6 separate regions of the Homo sapiens genome follow, and regions 1, 2, 3, 4 and 6 are each linked to region 5. The links are contacts of gene promoters, found by promoter capture Hi-C in blood cells and fetal thymus (Javierre and others, 2016). All regions are on one chromosome and are shown on one strand. Each heading gives the region's core, a stretch centred on a gene start or on the middle of the fragment in contact. The rest is flanking DNA. Distances are from core to core; before and after follow the strand shown.

Region 1 (3,024 bases), core at 69-2,568, 130 kb before region 5:
ACAGCAGATTGGTTGCAGCTGGTCCACAATGGTGTCACTGGCTCACCCAGCCAGAGCTTATGAAAAACCTCAGTCTGGATCGCCAAGATGTTTTCCTCAAAATGATCCCATAGAGCTGCCACTCTGACAATACCAAGAAGGTCTTGAAAAGGACGGGGTTTGGAATACTATAGAATTATATAAGTGCTTCCTTTGCAACTCATCCTTCACCTTGGCAGGCATGCATCCTCAAGTTCAGTTCAGGACTTGCAATGACCAAGAGACCAGTTGATTTGGCTCCATTGACCTGGAGTGGATTCCTGGCTGAAAACCCAGGGCACTGACTTGAATGGTCAGATTTCCAAAATATAAAAGGAAACAGCAAGAGGAAAGGAGAAGGAGAATGGGGTGTGTGTGCACGTGTGTGTATGCATGTGTTAGTGCAGTTTTAGAGGCCTGTGTGGGTGAGAAAGGAGAGTGACACAAAACAGATCAGAAACCACGCCTGGCCTCCCATGTTGAATTTCTCCCCTTATTCCCTGTACTGGATGTTTGTCATTTGCCTCTCCAGCCTCAGTTTCTCTCTATTGCCTTAGGAAGCTTAATGTCAACAAGGATTCCCCATACCCTCTGGCTTCCAGTGGAATCAGCCAATGAATCAGTGGGCCCACTGGCAGGAGTTCTGAAAGCTGGAAGAGAGGGTGGTTGTTGGCAGGGGTTGGCTGCGTCCTTCTGTGAAAGCCACAGCTTTTACCAGGTGACTTCTCCGTGCTACCCTCTCGATGTTCTGGTGACTCGGCTCTCATTTTGCCCCTCAGACCAAGGGGTAGTGATGATGGATCTGTGCTGTTGCCAGTTTGGGAATCCTGCACTATTCTTTGTTGGTTCCCCTAAACCCTGCCTGCACCTCTAAATAATCTCTTTATTAAACTCTTCCCAAATCAAATTGTTTAAATATGGCATTGGTTTCCCATCATGAGTTGGACAGATATGTTCTACAAATATATGAGTTTTTGCAAAGGAGGTGACAGAGATTGAACTTGAGAAAGGCAAGTTAAAATTATAGTAGTATCAGTCCCAGTTCTAGGGCTATTGATAGTATTAAATCAAGTTTAGCCTAAAGCTGCCTCCTGACAATGTTTTAAGTTCAGCCTAAAGGTTTCTCTGTGCATCATGAACTATAACAAATGGAGGTGTACACAGACCGTAGCCCACACTTGTGCCAATCATGGAGTTTTGGCCAATCAAATGTAGCTGACTGTTCTAACCATGTTCAAATAAGGCAAACGGTGTACTGTAATCAATCTGGCTGTTTCTGTACCTCACTTCCCTTTTCCGTACATCATTTTCCTTTTTCTGTCCATAAATTGTCTTCCACCACATGGTTGCACTGGAGTCTCTGAGCATACTCTGGGTCAGGAGGCTGCCCAATTCACAAATCTTTCATTGCTCAATTGAACTCTTTTAAATTTAATTCAGCTGAAGTTTTTATTTTATCAGTGGCAATGAAAGAGACCCATTCTTTCATGTCTACACATGAACAAATAGAAAAAGCAGTGAATTAAAAGTCAGAAAACTTTGGATCTAGTCTGGAATTTATCCCACACTGGCTACATGGCCTTGGTCAATTAATTTACCTTTTGTAGGACTTAGTTTTCTCTTTTATATAATATAAATAATCTGCTCAACATACTTCATGGCACTGTTGGGAGATTCAAATATCAAAATGCTTTGAAAAAAGGCTGTTCCATGCTTATCTATTGTAAAAACTCAGTATGTTTTTCCAAGCATAGCAGTAAATCAGCTCCTTTGAAGATTTTACCAAGTCTCCCAGGAAGAATTAATTCTCCTTCTTTCATTTTCTCAAAATTCAAACTATTTTATACAGAGACTTTGATCAGTCAAGAGCGCTTAGAAGCAGGAAAGTCATGGGAACCTCAGACTTAGAGTGAGCATTTTGAATATCATGGAGCCTGATGAGGAAATGAACCTGTGGAGAGAAGGGGGTGGAGGAAGCATAGAGTGAGAAGTCAAGAGAAGAGGCCACACTGGCACAGACAAATGGAAATTTTATTCCTGGAAGCTTTGCAGATCCTAGAAGTCAGGGTTTGTATCTTGTTTACCAACCTTAGATTCCAAGACGCATCTCAGTGTCATAAATCTCCTCTGCAGTTGAGCTAGCTTCAGTGGGTTTCTATTTCTTGACAATCCAGTGAGCTTTGATTGGAGAGCCATCCTTAGCCACCTTCCGTGGTCCTGGCAGGGCTGCTGAGACTGAGTGAGTGAAGCCTGGCCAGTTGGATGCCACTCGGCCACTGTGGGCCTGCCATGGCCACTTTCCATGTGTCAGATATGGCTTCAGGCTTGCCATATTTCTTGTATTCACAGACTTTCCTCTTGCTCATAAGGTTTCCACAGCTTGGATGGAATCTTCTTTCATCTCCTGTAGAGCTGTCCCTTTTCCTTTGTCATCAAGTATCATGATCATTTTGTGGTTGGCCACTTTATTCCCACGGCTCCTTGTCCCTTTTCTCTACAGGTTCTTGCTTGCTGTACAATTTCCAATGCCTCACGAGTGTCCAGGGAACAGAGCAGAAGAAGAAGAACATGTAAAGAATGAAGATTTAAGCAAGCAATTAATGTAGGCCAGCCCTAAGCTTGGGAGACCTCTGGTCTTAACTTTGCCTCCCAGATCTGAGTTAGGGCCTGTCTTTGCCAGGGGGCCTTGGTTGACAGTAATTCCAATGGGCCCAGCTCATACTGAATCAAAAAGACAAGGTTAATTTGGGACTCCATTACTGATTTGCTTCTGGGGTCTGATAAAAGGGAACATTAAACTATCTCCTAAGGCAGCTGAAGAACAATCTGAATTTCTCCAATGCTTGGAAGTAACTTTTTCCTAGTTCTTAGGAGGGGTAAGTTTCCAGGGACAGTTCTAGTACCTGGAGAGTCTCAGAATCAGAACTCATGATTCTAAGTTTAATATCTTAATACAACTCTAAGTTTAATATCAACTTTCTGTAGCAGTGCTTTGAGAAGTGATGA
Region 2 (2,883 bases), core at 66-2,565, 140 kb after region 5:
AGCACCTTTCATCCACTCAGACTAAGACACTGACCTTATCCCCCAATCATCTACTGTTCTCTAGAGGTATTCTTGCAGTTCCGTTCCATGATTTTCTACATTTCATTCCATTAGCTTGTTTGGTCATTTTTACTTTTCTGGTGAGATGATTTTCCCTAGACTCACAAGAGTTACCCCTCTTGGATAGGCGCCTTCGATTATACTGATTGCATCTTTGGCTCCCCAGGTGATCAGATGTCTCCAGATGGTAATGTTTACAGTGCCTGCCTCACACAGAAGCCTGAGATGGCAGGAAGGACTCTAGGTAGGCTTTTCAGATGGGTAGATGCCTGAACATGCTCTGGAAAAACCAGTCTTCTCTCCTCTCTGCAGTTTACCAGCTGTGTGACTGTGCATAGGTTACTGAGTTTCTCCAGGCCTCTGTTCTCTCCTCTGTTAAAAGGGGACACTTCTAATCCATCTCTGGTATTTGCATTAAATAGATAAATACCTGTAAAGCACTTAGCAGAGTAGCTGCTACTGAAAGGAAGTCAGTAAACTTTAATTCCCTTCCAAATCCCTCTGAGTCTTTTATTCATCAGGAAACAATAGCCGTGCACTCTGAATACACACATGCCAGTAAATGGCTATTAGTGAAGACAAATCAAGCTCCGGAAGCAAGCTAGCCTGAAGAGAGAAGAGAAACAGACAATTTTAAGACAAATTGGAGAAAGAGAGTATGGGGTTCAGGACCGGCAGCATCAGTATCTCTTGGGAACTGGTTAGAAATGCAGGTTCTCAGACTGGGGCTGGGCAGTCTTGTTTCAACAAGCCCTGCGGGTAATTCTGAAGTACAATAACATTTGAGTACCAATGGTCTAAGCTAAACTCAGCAGATAATGGGTGAGAATAATGGTGCGTGTTACTGTGTGTGTTATGTATGTTTGTGTGCATACATAACCATGTATGTAGAATGTTTGTAACAGCTGAAACTATTAATCAAACATAGTAATATCAGCAAAATCCAGTCAAACCAGTGATTAATTCCCCATTTTTCTTTGGTACTGTTGTCTGAGCAGAAATACTGTATAACTAGAATGCTTATCTTCAATAACTTTGCACTAAATTCATTTGGGATTTAAAAAACGGATTCATCAACTTTTTCCTTTATTTTCTAGGAAATTCCACTTACTTGGATGACCATGGACCACCTCCTAGTAAGGTAAGATCTTTGCTTGTGATATAAGTCCCCTTTTTCTTTTATCTTACTTACAGCCTCCAACAAGCAGAACAGATCTCTCCTGGACACGAATCATTCACAAGAAACAGTAGATGACATATGTGAAATTGATGTTTAACTTCTAACAAGGAGGAAGCAGAAAAGCATGATGATAGCCCAGATGACAGGGAGAAGGAGCCATTGTTGAATCAGTGGCTGTTGCTGCCCAGGCATTGGAGCCTGAGACTGACTTCAGACCTCTGGCAGCTTCTCCTGTTTGCACCTCATTTTCATTTGCCTTGGCATCGATGCTGGCCCACAGTGTGATAGCCACACCCGGCCTCCCCATGCCTTCGGGCTTTGGGGCTAGACTCACATCTGTCCTGTTCTCTCCAGCCTAACTGGGTTGGGATACTCCACTTGAGGCCCTGCCAATACCACCTCAAGGCTGCCCTGGCCTGGCCTGTGAGTCCACTTTTGTTTTTCCTGTAAGCAGTTTTGTCTGACTTAAGGGGCAGAATAATCCTTTAGTATAGTTTCCCTAACACTGTTTACTTTCTTGAGCTCAATGAAAACCGAATGCTAATCTACTGAAAAGTGAGCAAACTAGAACAAATTGATCATTGTATATAAGAAAATACATGCAATGCAATTACCCTTTATTCTAACCGTATGTCCCTTGTACTTTTTTGACATCATTTTTTTTCCTTCTAGGAAATGATGGGGATTGTTGATCAGTACTTGGGAAGGGGTTGTGCTTGGCAAAATAAGAAGTTGGCAACCCTCTATCTGTCACTTCAAGAATGTTCTTTCTGGCCTGTGAAATCTTAAAGTGTAGATACAAGCACTCTAGCTCTCCCTGTACTTGGTTGTTTTCTTAGTCTTTGACCACTTAAGGTGATGCCTACAAAATGCAGTTGTAAATACACGGTGAGAAGATAATGAACCCCCAACCTTAGAGGCTTTGGGGAAATTTACTCCTGTATTAGTCCATTCCTGCATTGCTATAAAGAAATACCCGAGACTGGGTAATTTAAAAAATTCCACAGGCTGTATAGGAAGCATGATAGAGGCATCTACTCAGCTTCTGGGGAGGCTTCAGGAAACTTTCAATCATGGTGGAAGGCAGAGAGGAAGCAGGCGCATCTTACGTGGCCAGAGCAGGAACAAGAGGGATTGGGGGAGGTACCACACACTTTTAAACAACCAGATCTCACAGGAACTCACTGTCGCCATGACAGCACCAAGGGGGATAGTGCTAAACCCTGAAAATCCACCCTCATGATCCAGTCACCTCCCACCAGGCCACTCCGACACTGGGGATGACAATTAGACATGAGATTTGGGTGGGGACACAGATCCAAACAAATCAGCCCCAAAGTATGTTTAGACCACCCCCACATTCATGAGCATGAACTTTGGAAGAAGATATTTCTGGATTCAACACTGACGCTGCCACTTTCTAGCTGTGTGACAGTGGATGAATTACTTAATATTTTGAGCCTCAGTTTCTCATGTGCAGGGTGGGACTAAAAATACCGCTTACAGCACAGGATGCCTAAAATGATTGAATGAGCTGATGTATGATGAACACTTGACACTGACATGCGATAAACATTAAATCAAGGGTGGCTGCTGTTAACTGTACTGCAGTAACATTAAAATTATTGATGAGTGGTACAGCA
Region 3 (2,997 bases), core at 184-2,683, 250 kb after region 5:
TTGTATATGTGGAGGTTTGTTGCAAGGGTGTATTGCATGTGTTTGAGCTTCTGTTGATCTTGGCACCAGATAATGAACATAGTACCCAGTAGGAAGGCTTGCAGCCTTTGCTGTCTCCCTCCCTGCTTTTGGAGTCCCCGTGTCTGTTCTCATCTTCAGAGGATATGAACTGGGGTTTATGTTGGTTCACTAAATGTATATATCCTAAGATGTACCTGCATATAATAAAAATAGGGAACATTCTATAAGAAAGCTGTGAGAGAAATCTCAAATACCAGCATAATAAAGGGGCTTGATTTCGTAGCTTTTTTTCTTGGATTCCATGTAGTCATGTTTTATTTTAGAAGAGAAAGAATCCAGGAAGCAGGACCAATGAAAGGGTCAGAAATGAGATCTCTAAGCAAACTTAGGATGGAAAATTATAAAGGTCTGAGGATTCATAAAGAACCTGACCCACTGAAAACACAGTCCAAGAAGCTTTAGAGTGAGACAGATGGAAAATGAATGAGTGAATGAATGGATGAATGAAAAAATGAATTAGAAAAAGGGAAAATGAAGGCAGGAAAAAATTGAGCTTCCTTACAGAATGTTCTCTAATATTTTTATTATATGCAGGTACATCTTAGGATATATACATTTAGTGAACCAACATAAACCCCAGTTCATATCCTCTGAAGATGAGAACAGACACTGGGGAACACACTATACTAATAGTCATTTATTTTTTCTGGGATTTTTTTGTTTGCTTTTTATAACATTATGGAAAATTTTAAATACTCACAAAAGAGAATAGTCCAGTGAAGCTCCATTTCACAGACAATTCTTAGTCACTCATGATACTAGGATCTTGAGAAACCGAAGTTCCCTGTTAATTTAAAATAATTATTTTATTTAGGTTCAGCATCTCTTTATTGAACTTATTACGAGTCCTTAATGACCTTCTAAGTCAGGATCATGGAGCACAGAAAGGAGAAGCTGTGGGCTGGCCTAAAAAATAATCCACAAACATGCTGTTTATACCCTGGATAACCAGAGGTTGAAAGTGTGACTTTTGTGGTTTGTTTTGCGTTCTTAAGCCAAAACTATTAGACTATTGCATGTGAAAGAAAACGAAATTCTGAACCTCTTCAGCTAAGAAGGCAAAATCATCAAAATTCTGAGGCTAAGACAGTTTCTGTGGCTTTTCAAAACTTGTGTGGCCCAAAGGGGCCATAAATAACTTTTATGGTATAAATCCCTTAAAGAACATTCTTGGTTTCTCAGGAATTCCTGCCATTCTTACAGTCACAAAGCTTCATTTTGGCTGGGAAGATGTTTGAGCTTGAGTTTTCTGTTCAGTACTGCCTCCAGGAAGTACTAAACTGTGGAGACGTGGACTATGCTGTGGGCTTCTTATAACAGGTGAAATGAACAGATTTGAGGTGAATGATTCTTTTGTCTCCACCTCATAATTCAACTTTTCACCAAAATCTGCCGTATTCCTTCTGATCTCTGGCCTACGTTTTATAAACACCTTTTCCTTCTGGTATTACATGCAGAGCACAAAAAAGTTAAAATATATTTCCATGATTATTTTAAGCTTGAGAATAGCAAAATTGTAGCCCCCATAGGATGCACTGGCAGTGCATTCATATAATATCACACTGCCCCTCCTAGAGAAAACTCACAATGGTGATCTCTCCATTTTCTGTGTGGCTAAGTAGCGGGTAGGGATGCGGGCCCATCCATAAACCCGACCTCCTGCTTATTTTAAGAGTTTCATCAGCATCTCAAGATGAGTCAATATTAGAAGGATAGATAGTCCCATTGACTGTATGCTTCAGAATATAATCAGCGCAGCCCCTTATAGGCCGAGGCTGCTGCCATGTATGTGCTGGTCTGAATGCAGCAAGCAGCATAGCACTGCAGCCCAGGTGGCTGGTGCATGCCTGGTTAACCAAGGCAGCACTTGCAGCACTCACAGCAGTCAGCCAGTGGCAGAGATCCAGCCATGTGGCTCCTTCTGGGCTGTAGAGATGAGAATCACAGACAACCAAGATGCAAAATCCCGAAGTCATTATTCCTCTGAGTGGAGCCCGCATCTGGAATGCACCTTTTCCAGCAGGGAGTAGTTTATAGGTCATATAATGTCATTTCAGTCATGCAGATATCTAGCAAGAAAAAGTATCAACAATGATATATCTTTATCTATATGAACACTTAAGTACTTTTTGTTCAAAATTTAATGGTACTTGTATTCTGGACTTTACTGGTGAAATTTTTATGATGTTGTTTATTGAAAAACAGTAGTATCATCTGAAATCTTTCATTAGACACCCAGACTTCCATGGTGATTTGCTAGGCATAGCATAATTCAAATAAAAATTTCATTATCTTCAAAGACCACTTTTAGAAACTATAATAGAACACCTATCTGGCACTGGGTGGATACCGTAATACAGAGAAGCAAATCTTCTAGGTTAGAATATAATTCTGATACAGAATATGTAGAACAAAGATTATAACTTTTTATATTCATGGCATACTTCAAATATTGGAACTTTTGGCAACATGCAACACTAATAATAGACTCAAAGCAACACCATTAAGACAAACTCACTGCTATGATGTAACAGTGTCTCACAGGGTCTGTAAGAAGAACCCTCAGGAATAATGCTGTTTGATGTCTGACTTAAACTGTGCATTGTCCTTTACCCTCTGACATATAGAGCAAAAATGATTACGTTTCTCTAAACATGTGACCTTGCTTTGGCACAGACTTGACATCTTACTCAACTTCTTTCCTCTAACTTTGCAAGTTTCACTCCTTACATCCCAGGTTATCCATGCCTCTACACTCAGCATTTCCTCTGATAGACCTTCCTGTAGCAAAGAAGCATGAATAGCCCATACAGGGCTCCCAATCAAGATGGTATACTGAGTTCACACTCTCTTGACCCCAAATATATTGTAATGATTGATAGAATATAAAAAGAGGAAATCCAAAGGATTTACCAG
Region 4 (3,043 bases), core at 463-2,962, 230 kb after region 5:
ATATAGGCAATGGAAGAAATCACAAAAGAAATGAATTTTAGATTTGTCTTTAGATAATTTAACAGTTTATTTCACAAAAAGGCATTATAGGCAACATTAACAGGCAAATCGAATGGAGACAATATTTACAAATATGACAAAGAATTTATTCTTAAAGATATTAAGATATAAGAAGTCTTATAAATCAGTAAAAAAAAGACTAATTCCCCATTGAAAAATTACAAGTAAAATTCCGGATAATCTAAAAAATGCTCAGCCTCATCTATAATTTTTGAACTGCAAATTAAAGCAATATGTCACTTTTAAGGTATTAAACTGGCAGAGACTTCAGAAATTATAAGTAGTGGTATGCTCATAAATGTTTAATAACCACCTCTGGCGGGGGTGGGGGGTTGTTTTGTAACTTTGCCAATTTCTGTGGTGTCAATACTTCTCACCATGGTGATTTCAAACTACGAACATGACATCACTGAATACAGCAGAGTTAAGAGATGGGCATTTGCCTCTTATAAGCTGTTACTATCTGGCTCCAGCACATTTCCAATTCATACTCTGCTGTCAAGGGTACATCAGAATGGACATGTCCATGTATTTCTGGTATCAGGATTCCGGGAGCGTGGTCCATCTTGTGCATCATTCAATTCCTCCGCCCTTCACCTGCACACCATGTCATCATACGTTTTTATCTTTGCCAGGCTGAGAGATGAGAAATTATGTGTCAGTAGGATAAGTTGCATTTCTCTCGTTATGAGTGAAGTTGAGCATCTTCTCACATGTTTAAGAGGCATTTGTATTTTCCTTTCTCATCTTATCATTGCCCATTTTGCTAACATTCTGATCTCTAGAAACTTTTCAGAAAATTACAGAAATTTGCCCACTATTTTTGATATAAATTGCAAGTATTGTTTTCCTAGTTAGTAATCTCTTTTAACTTTCTTTGTGATGTTTTTTACATGCAGAATTTTATTTCTTTGTGGTCAAATTTATCAACCTTTTTCTTTTTATGGCTTCTGAGTTTTGTGTTATACTCAGAAGGATCTTATTAACTCTGAAACTATAAAAAATATTCTCCATGGTGTCTTCTAGAGTTTTGTTGTTATTCATGTTAAATTAAAATCTTTAATACTTCTGAAATTTATTCTGGTGTCAGGTATAACATATCAATGTAGTTTCTTTTTTTTCCAGATGGCTAACAAACTATCCCATTTATACAATAATTTGTGTTTTCCTCATTAAAGTATCACCTTTATTATATGAGAAATTCTTGGTTTTAGAGGGATCTGTTTTTTCTTTTGGCTTTTATTTTGTTCCATTAATGTGTATCTTTATATACAGAACACTATTCTATATATTTATATATATACACACTGTTGTAACCTATTGTATAATTACATAATACATAGTTTTATTATGTAATATGCAATAGTATAATTATATAATATAGAGTGACTATTTATATATACATTTTATTATCTGGCAGGGTCCAGTCTTTCCTCTTTACTCAGCTTTTTCCCCAATTGTCCTAGGTCTTTGTCTTTGTTCATTTTTCCTTAGGAACTTTAAAATCAGCTTGTTCAGGGTCGGGCGTGGTGGCTCACGCCTGTAATCCCGGCACTTTGGGAGGCCAGGGCGGGCGGATCATGAGGTCAGGAGATCGAGCCCATCCTGGCTAACATGGTGAAACCCCGTCTCTACTAAAGATACAAAAAAATTAGCCGGACGAGGTGGCGGGTGCCAGTAGTCCCAGCTACTCGGGAGGCTGAGGCAGGAGAATGGTGTGAACTCGGGAGGTGGAGCTTGCAGTGAGCCAAGATCGCGCCACTGTACTCCAGCCTGGATGACAGAGTGAGAATCTGTCTCAAAAAAAAAAAAAAAAAAAAGAAAAGAAAATCAGCTTGTTCAGCCGTCCGCTACCCCCACCCCACATTCATACCCAGAATACCCTGTGTGTTGGGTTTACTTTGAGCTTTAGATTAAGGTAGGGAGGATTGACGTCTGTATGTGGAGTCTTATTATTTGAGAATGTATTTTGCCTTTCCATTTGCTCAGAACTTCTGTTATATCTCTCCAGAGTTTTAAAGTTTTCTTCATTTAGATCTTGCACATTTCTTAAGTTGATTTCTAGATATTTGGTTTGTTGTTGTTGTAATTTTACATATTATTACTGTTACTAATTTCTATATATTACCTTTAACTCAGTCACCTTAGTAAGTGAATTCTATGTTTGTCAAGAAATTTTCACAGATTATTTTCAGTTTACCAGATAAAATTATATCCCCAGGTGATAATTTTATCTTTCTTTTTTCTAGTTTTTATAACTCTTATCCATTTGTTTTTGTTGTATCTCTAGAACAGTGTTAAATATAATGTTGATAAAAATGACCCAGCAATCCCATTACTGGGTATATACCCAAAGGATTATACATCACATACATTTTATAGTATATAGTCTTTACATAGGCTGTAAAGACACATGCACATGTGTGTTTATTGCAGCATTGTTTATAATAGCAAAGACTTGGAACTAACCCAAATGCCCATCAGTGACAGACTAGATAAAGAAAATGTGGCACATATATACCGTGGAATACTATGCAGCCATAAAAAAGAATGAGTTCATGTCCTTTGCAGGGACATGGATGAAGCTGGAAACCATCATCCTCAGCAAACTAACACAAGAACAGAAAACCAAACACCGCATGTTCTCACTCATAAGTGGGAGTTGAACAATGAGAACACATGGACACAGGGAGGGGAACATCACACACCGGGGCCTGTCAGGGGTTGGGGGGAAAGGGGAGGGAGAGCATTAGGACAAATACCTAATACATGCGGGGCTTAAAACCTAGATGACAGGTTGATAGTTGCAGCAAACCACCATGGGACGTGTATACCTGTGTAACAAACCTGCACGTTCAGCATATGTATTCCAGAACTTAAGGTAAAAATTTTTTTAAAAAAAAATTGGTTTCTCATAGAAGTCAGATAATTGAAGTAAAAGTTAAATTGCTAATTGCCAAATTTCGCTCATTTCTACTTTTAT
Region 5 (2,846 bases), core at 263-2,762:
ATGAACATGGTTAAGACATATTCATTCTTTCTTTCTTTCTTTTCTTTTCTTTCTTTTTTTTTTTTTTTGAGACGGTGTCTCGCACTGTCGCCCAGGCTGGAGTGCAATGGCGCGATCTCGACTCACTGCAACCTCCGCCTCCCGGGTTCACACGATTCTCCTGCCTCAGCCTCCTGAGTAGCTGAGGTTAAGACATATTCTTAACGAGTAAGTTCTTTGTCTAGGATAATATTTTGTAATTTTCCACAGAATATTCTTCAGATGCCTAACTTGATGAAGGTTTTCAGGAGCCTAGTCTTAGAATCATAGAGGTTCTTGGCTCCTGGTTCCTTCTTAAATCCAATTGTTCATTACTGGAATATACAAATGAGTAGGGAGCCAGAAATGATAGGCACCAGAAACTGAGGTTTCCATTTCTCAATGTGGCCTGAACTAAATGAATTAAATCTCATCCTCCTATGGGACGTGAAGGAAAAGGGCTCTGGCTGGGAAGTACTGCTGTGCAGTGGTTAGTATAGTGGGTCTGAGGGTCAAATAGATTTGAGTGCAACTCCCAACCCAACTCCTACTACTAGCTTTGGGACCTCGGGTGAGTCACACAGCCCTCAGGTGCTACAGCTTCTATAAATAGTGATATAGTATTCTTACTTAAAGTGTGGCTGATCAGAGCAGCCCTTCCGTGGATCAACCACCCCATCAGAGGATCTATGTCTAGGATTGAGCCTTTTCTGCCCCAGGAGGTTCTTTCAGGTCCAGAGGCTTTCCCGTGGAGGGAAGAGAGGCAGCAATGAAATCAGCGTATAGGCGGACTGGGCTCTTTCCCCTTCATGTCTGCAGGGCAATGACCTCCTAGAGTCCGCTATGCACCCCCCACTTGCCTCTCTGGGCACTGCGAGGTGGAGCAGTTGTAGGACCAGGAAAAGCAAGAACAGAGCGTCCTCTTCGGCTACCCTACCCGGGAGTTCAGGCGCTGCGCCTGGCCCTCTGGGGCGTGTTTGACCATAACTCGCACCGCTTGCTCTTTTCCCATTTCAGCAAAGTCTTGAGCCTGTATTCTAGTACCTTTTATCAGCCTTGGGTAAGCAGCTCGCACGGGGTATATAAGGAGAATCAACTTTCTGAACTGAAAAAAATGTAAATAGTAAAGTCAGTCGTGCTTCTTCCTGCCGGTGACTGTTTACAAGAGGGAAGTCAGCGGGGCCCCCAAGAGGTCGCTGGTGGCGCAGGAACCGCATCCAGATTGTAAAGAACGGGGGAAGGAAAAAAAAAGAAAACACCCAGAAACTTTCTTCCTTGTTGCGAATAATCGCCGCCTCCCCCCCTCCGCCCCCAGCAGAAGCAGTAACGTGACACCCGAGCGAAATCCCGAGACCCGAGCGGAGAGGGAGGGGAGAGGGAGGAGAGTGCTGCGGAGCGCCGGAGGGAGAAAGGGGAGGAGAAGGAGGAAAACCCCTGTCAAGGAGGTGGAGCGAGGGGATGGTGTCCGCCTCCTGTTCCTCCCTGCCGTTTTTTAGAGAAGCCTGAACCGGGACAAAACACGCCGAGACCTACAGACACAAAGCCGGGGGGTCCACGCTGGCGCTGGAGGCGAGCCCCGGCGGCCGCAAGCGAGCCCGAGGCGCGGCGGGGCGCGGGGCGTGGGGACGCTAGCGGGCGCCGGACGGGCGCGGCGCCCCGTCACGGGCAGCGCCCCGAACCGGGGCCGGACACCTCGGCCGCTCGGGCCGCGGCGGCGGGGACCATGCCGAAGAAAGTCTCCTGAGCCCGGCAACTTCGGCCCCTCCCCGCCCCCACCCGGCTGCCCTCCGCGCGGCCCTCCCCATGTGCAGCCGGCCAGCCGGGCTCTCCTCCTCGCGGCGGATGGGTGACCTTTTCCTGGCACGGGCAGGCTGTGGGAGGCAGCGGAGCAGGCGATGAAGAAGAAGCAGCAGCATCCCGGCGGCGGCGCGGATCCCTGGCCCCATGGGGCCCCTATGGGGGGCGCCCCTCCGGGCCTGGGCAGCTGGAAGCGTCGGGTGCCCCTGCTGCCTTTCCTGCGCTTCTCCCTCCGGGACTACGGCTTCTGCATGGCCACCCTGCTGGTCTTCTGCCTGGGCTCCCTCCTCTATCAGCTCAGCGGGGGACCCCCTCGCTTCCTGCTCGACCTGCGGCAGTACTTGGGTAAGGAAGCTGGGCAGGCGCTAGGGCGGCGCCGACAGCGCAAAGTTGTGCGGCGGGGAGAGGGTCGCGGCGGGGACTTCTCGCGCTGCCACCGCGCGCCGCCGCCGCCCCGGGTCTCTCCAGGTGCTAAGCCCGTGAGCATCTGTGCCGCGGTCGGGAGCGCCTTCTTCCTCCCGCGCGTCCGACTGTCCTCACCGAGGCGGGGGCGCCGCTGGGTTGCGCTGCCGGCAGGTACCCCGGGGCGAGGCACCGCTCACCTTCCCCCCGCCCCACCTCCGCCACCCGGATCCGGACTGGGGCGGAGTGGATGGGTGTGTGGGGTGTGCCGGAGTGTGTGTATCTTCAGGCCTGGCGGCGCGGGGAGTGGCGAAGGGAAGGGAAGGTCCTCTTCGTTGCATTGTTAGTGACCGCAGTTCAGTCCCGTCCCGCGCCCCGGGGAGTGTGGGTGGGTTTAGCCCTTTGCCACCGTCCGCTCTGAGAATTCTGTCCCGCAGATCCCCCGCCTGCCCGCCGGCCCTAGTGGCTCCGCGCTGTCCCCGGGCTGGCTTGTCCCTTGGCTGCCGCTGCCCACCCCGCCGCCCGCAGCTAGCCTGGCGCGGGGAACGGGTTGCATCCAGGGGTTTGGGGATGCCCGAGGGCGCTGGTCAGCCTGGCCAGCAGTGTCGCCCCCAGTAACCCGAGGATCC
Region 6 (3,116 bases), core at 401-2,900, 200 kb before region 5:
ACAAATATCATGTGTGTGCGTGCGTGCGTGCGCGTGTGTGTCTGTATTCATAGTGACTGCTTTTGGTTTTAACCAGTTTAGTATCGTTACTGTGTGGATCGTCGCGCTGCAGTATTGACTTGGAATCCTGACCATGTCCATCCCAAAATTCAGTCCTCAGTTAACGGATCATGTTTGCAAAAGGTCACTGTGAGGCTGCATATTTCAGAAAGATGTCCTTAATAAGGGAAGTCATGTATAAGATGTTTTCTAAAAGACTTTTCAGTATTACAACTAATACTATTATTATCCTTCTTTTTTTATTTAGATAATTCTTTTAATTTAAACAAAGGTTCACTATGGAACCAGACAAATCTCATTAGCCATGTGTTAAGTATTTGCTACTTTAAATTGTTTTACAACTGATTTCAGCACATTCTATCCTTTTTTTTTTTTGAAATGGAGTTTCGCTCTTGTCACCCAGGCTGGAGTGCAATGGCACGATCTTGGCTCACTGCAACCTCAGTCTCCCAGGTTCAAGTGATTCTCCTGCCTTAGCCTCCCGAGTAGCTGGGATTATAGGCACCCACCACCACGCCCAGCTAATTTTTGTATTATTAGTAGAGACAGGGTTTCACCATGTTGGCCAGGCTGGTCTCAAACTCAACTCCTGACCTCAGGTGGTCCACCCGCCTCAGCCTCCCAAAGTGCTGGGATTACAGGTGTGAGCCACCGCACCTGGCCTCTGTCCTCTTTTAGTCTAGTGTCTGGTTTTCTAGCAAACAGTAAATTTAAACAAGTAAACTATTATGGTTTCCATTGCTTACAAAATGATTTTCCTTTACATTCTTATCATGAACACTATTTTAAGCATCAAATGCAATCATCTAAAATATAAAGGTCAATCATTTATAATAGAAACACCTTGACCACAAGCCCTTGATTGAACATTTTATAATATTTCATCTACTTATTAAAACAAATAATTTCCCTTGGGTTGGAGGGGAAGTGATTTCATAAATTAATTAGAAAGCCATCTTTAGCATATTGCTTATGTCTGGATCCATGTTTCTGAGGAAAAAGACATTCTCAGGTGATGTATTTTTTTCATGCATTAGTATGCATTTTTAAAAAATAATGCATGTTTCTTTAATAATTAATTTTCATCTTCTATAAGATGCCATGTGAAGAAGTTGTGGAAATGTAGAATAAAAAGCTAAAGCTGCCAAATTTCTGTTGAACTCTTAAAAACAGCTCATGTTTGTTTGTCCTCTCGGGTTGTGGCCTAGCCTATTTGCAATGTAATGAAGCTGCAGGGTTCTTGTATAGCTAAAGCGTTCAATGCATTTCACGTGCTGTGGTGGATGTGGGTGCTGTAGACAGGCTTCTTCTCTTCCTGCTCTCAAAATACCTCGGCTTGACATTTGGACAGATCCTGTCATTGTTTAAGCTGAGCAAAAAACCACACAAAAGTTGTGTAAGAGATGAGATAACAAAGGAGCGAGAGAAATCTCATGTGAATTTCCAAGTTTTAATTCGTTCTCCATGAAGGATTTTCATTTCAGTGAAAGTCGCAGCAGAAGAGGGAACTTTCTGGAGTTTTTGAGAATGCCAAACCACATTTTTATCACACTTCTTTGGAAATCAATGCCTTTGCATAGAAAATCAAATTCAGGGACCACAAAGAATTTTCAGTGGGAATGTCTAGTCTGAGGGGTCTGAGGTTGTTTTTACTTTATTGTGTTGTTTAAATATTTTAAAAATATCTTTAGCGTTTGGTCTTTTTTTTTTCTGTAAACATTTAATTTGGTCTGAGAAAAGCTGAATGTTTGGGTGTGACGTTTGACTGAGGTGGATTGGGGCTGCCTGTGGACATTAGTGAACAGGTGGTAGGCTTCAGGAATATCCAGTTTTAATCAGTTGCATTTGGTACAGAATTTTGAGTAATGGTGAAAATTGTTGTCTTTGGAAAGCACAAAAGAAACCTGGAAAGGCAGTTCGGCTCAGGTAGCTACACATAACATTGTGTATGATTTTCACTTCAAAGCTGTCTGGAAGGAAATGCAGTCAGCTCCAGCTAGTACTATTTATGTACCCAGATAACTAAGATATTGTTTCATGGCCTTGCCTTAGTCAGAGGCCCTTTTCTCTGTCCTGAACCCCCAGGTATGGGTGAAATTGGAAATTACTAATCTATTGGAAATCAGTTCCTGACATAGTAAAGTTTGCTTTCATAACTGCAGCAAAAAAGGTCAACTTGCCAAGTCACTGCTGCCATGTGTGTACTGTATTATTTTCAGAAAAAAATATAATAGTCTGAGTCCAAGTTATCTTGATTTAAAATTGATAGAGAAAAGAAACTGTCGAGCAAGTTATATAACAACTAACAACATTGCACTTTCTGTATATGAAATCAATATTTAAATAACTTATTTTTCTCCATTGCTGTTCTTAAAAACATTGTAAGTAGCTGTAATATACCAGTACCAATATGTTCTTGCAATTGCTTCAGCCCAAGAAAGCTGTGTATTGTTTTAAAAATTGTAAAAATTATTGTGATGATTCATTTAGCATAAAGAGAGGTGGACGGAAGGGTTTTCCTATGTATCAAAACTTGTCTATAATTATGTCATCTATGTACCTAGAAAAAAGTAAATAAATTTCTTCAGTTGAATATGCCTTTTTTGTTGTTTCTTGGGTATTTTAAAGATGAATGGAGTAGAAATGAAAAGGAATTTATAAAGTGGTCAAATAATGAAATATACTGGGAAAATTGTAGTTGTCTGCAATTCTGCCATCACCAGAACTCACCCTCTGACATCCACCCAGATTCTCTTTGCCACTTTATTGCTTTATTTTCAAATATGCATAATCGAGTCATATAATGATAGCACCTTAGACCAGCAAGATATTTTTTGGAAGTCATCTTGAGTCTAAGATTATCATTTTCAAATGAAGAATCTGAGTCCATATGGATGATTGACTTGCTCAATATTATACAGCTAAATGACACCACCACCCATATCTTCTACTGAGAAAGAAAAAACAAGTCTAGGTCTGGATAGCCTAGAAATTAATCAACATGACAATAATGGGTTTTTAATTTCAGCGTACCACAATTGATACAAAGACACATT

The links. The method cuts DNA at HindIII sites, captures the fragments that hold promoters and counts their contacts. A CHiCAGO score of 5 or more calls a contact.
Region 1: a fragment that was not itself captured here is called in contact with the fragment with the promoter of UST in region 5 in 1 of 17 cell types (monocytes); the score reaches 6.1 in monocytes.
Region 2: a fragment that was not itself captured here is called in contact with the fragment with the promoter of UST in region 5 in 2 of 17 cell types (naive B cells and total B cells); the score reaches 7.3 in naive B cells.
Region 3: a contact is called between a fragment that was not itself captured here and the fragment with the promoter of UST in region 5, in 7 of 17 cell types (total B cells, naive B cells, M1 macrophages and 4 more). The highest score is 13.4, in total B cells.
Region 4: a fragment that was not itself captured here is called in contact with the fragment with the promoter of UST in region 5 in 4 of 17 cell types (total B cells, naive B cells, total CD8 T cells and 1 more); the score reaches 9.0 in total B cells.
Region 6: a contact is called between a fragment that was not itself captured here and the fragment with the promoter of UST in region 5, in 2 of 17 cell types (naive B cells and monocytes). The highest score is 5.4, in naive B cells.

Annotation. Positions count from the first base shown.
Region 1 is chr6:148,613,518-148,616,541 of GRCh38, forward strand. No RefSeq gene overlaps it. Among named protein-coding and RNA genes, the nearest start is that of UST, 130 kb to the right of the region's middle. The HindIII fragment of the contact is 1,483 bases long and covers 578-2,060 here.
Region 2 is chr6:148,885,829-148,888,711 of GRCh38, forward strand. It overlaps UST (uronyl 2-sulfotransferase), which reads left to right. Exons shown (of 8, transcript NM_005715.3): 2 at 1,158-1,201. Among named protein-coding and RNA genes, the nearest start is that of UST-AS1, 77 kb to the right of the region's middle. The HindIII fragment of the contact is 5,578 bases long and covers 1-2,883 here.
Region 3 is chr6:148,996,952-148,999,948 of GRCh38, forward strand. All of the region lies in intron 5 of UST (uronyl 2-sulfotransferase), which reads left to right. Among named protein-coding and RNA genes, the nearest start is that of UST-AS1, 34 kb to the left of the region's middle. The HindIII fragment of the contact is 287 bases long and covers 1,291-1,577 here.
Region 4 is chr6:148,975,892-148,978,934 of GRCh38, forward strand. The region is part of intron 5 of UST (uronyl 2-sulfotransferase); the gene reads left to right. Among named protein-coding and RNA genes, the nearest start is that of UST-AS1, 13 kb to the left of the region's middle. The HindIII fragment of the contact is 5,795 bases long and covers 1-3,043 here.
Region 5 is chr6:148,745,518-148,748,363 of GRCh38, forward strand. It overlaps UST (uronyl 2-sulfotransferase), which reads left to right and starts at 1,513. Exons shown (of 8, transcript NM_005715.3): 1 at 1,513-2,160. The coding sequence starts at 1,914. It overlaps LOC124901425 (a long non-coding RNA gene), which reads right to left and starts at 82. Exons shown (of 2, transcript XR_007059806.1): 1 at 1-82. RefSeq lists enhancers at 1,142-1,201, 1,262-1,341, 2,650-2,846 and silencers at 1,912-2,001, 2,302-2,471. The HindIII fragment of the contact is 11,485 bases long and covers 1-2,846 here.
Region 6 is chr6:148,549,392-148,552,507 of GRCh38, forward strand. It overlaps SASH1 (SAM and SH3 domain containing 1), which reads left to right. Exons shown (of 20, transcript NM_015278.5): 20 at 1-2,653. Among named protein-coding and RNA genes, the nearest start is that of UST, 200 kb to the right of the region's middle. The HindIII fragment of the contact is 3,763 bases long and covers 1-3,116 here.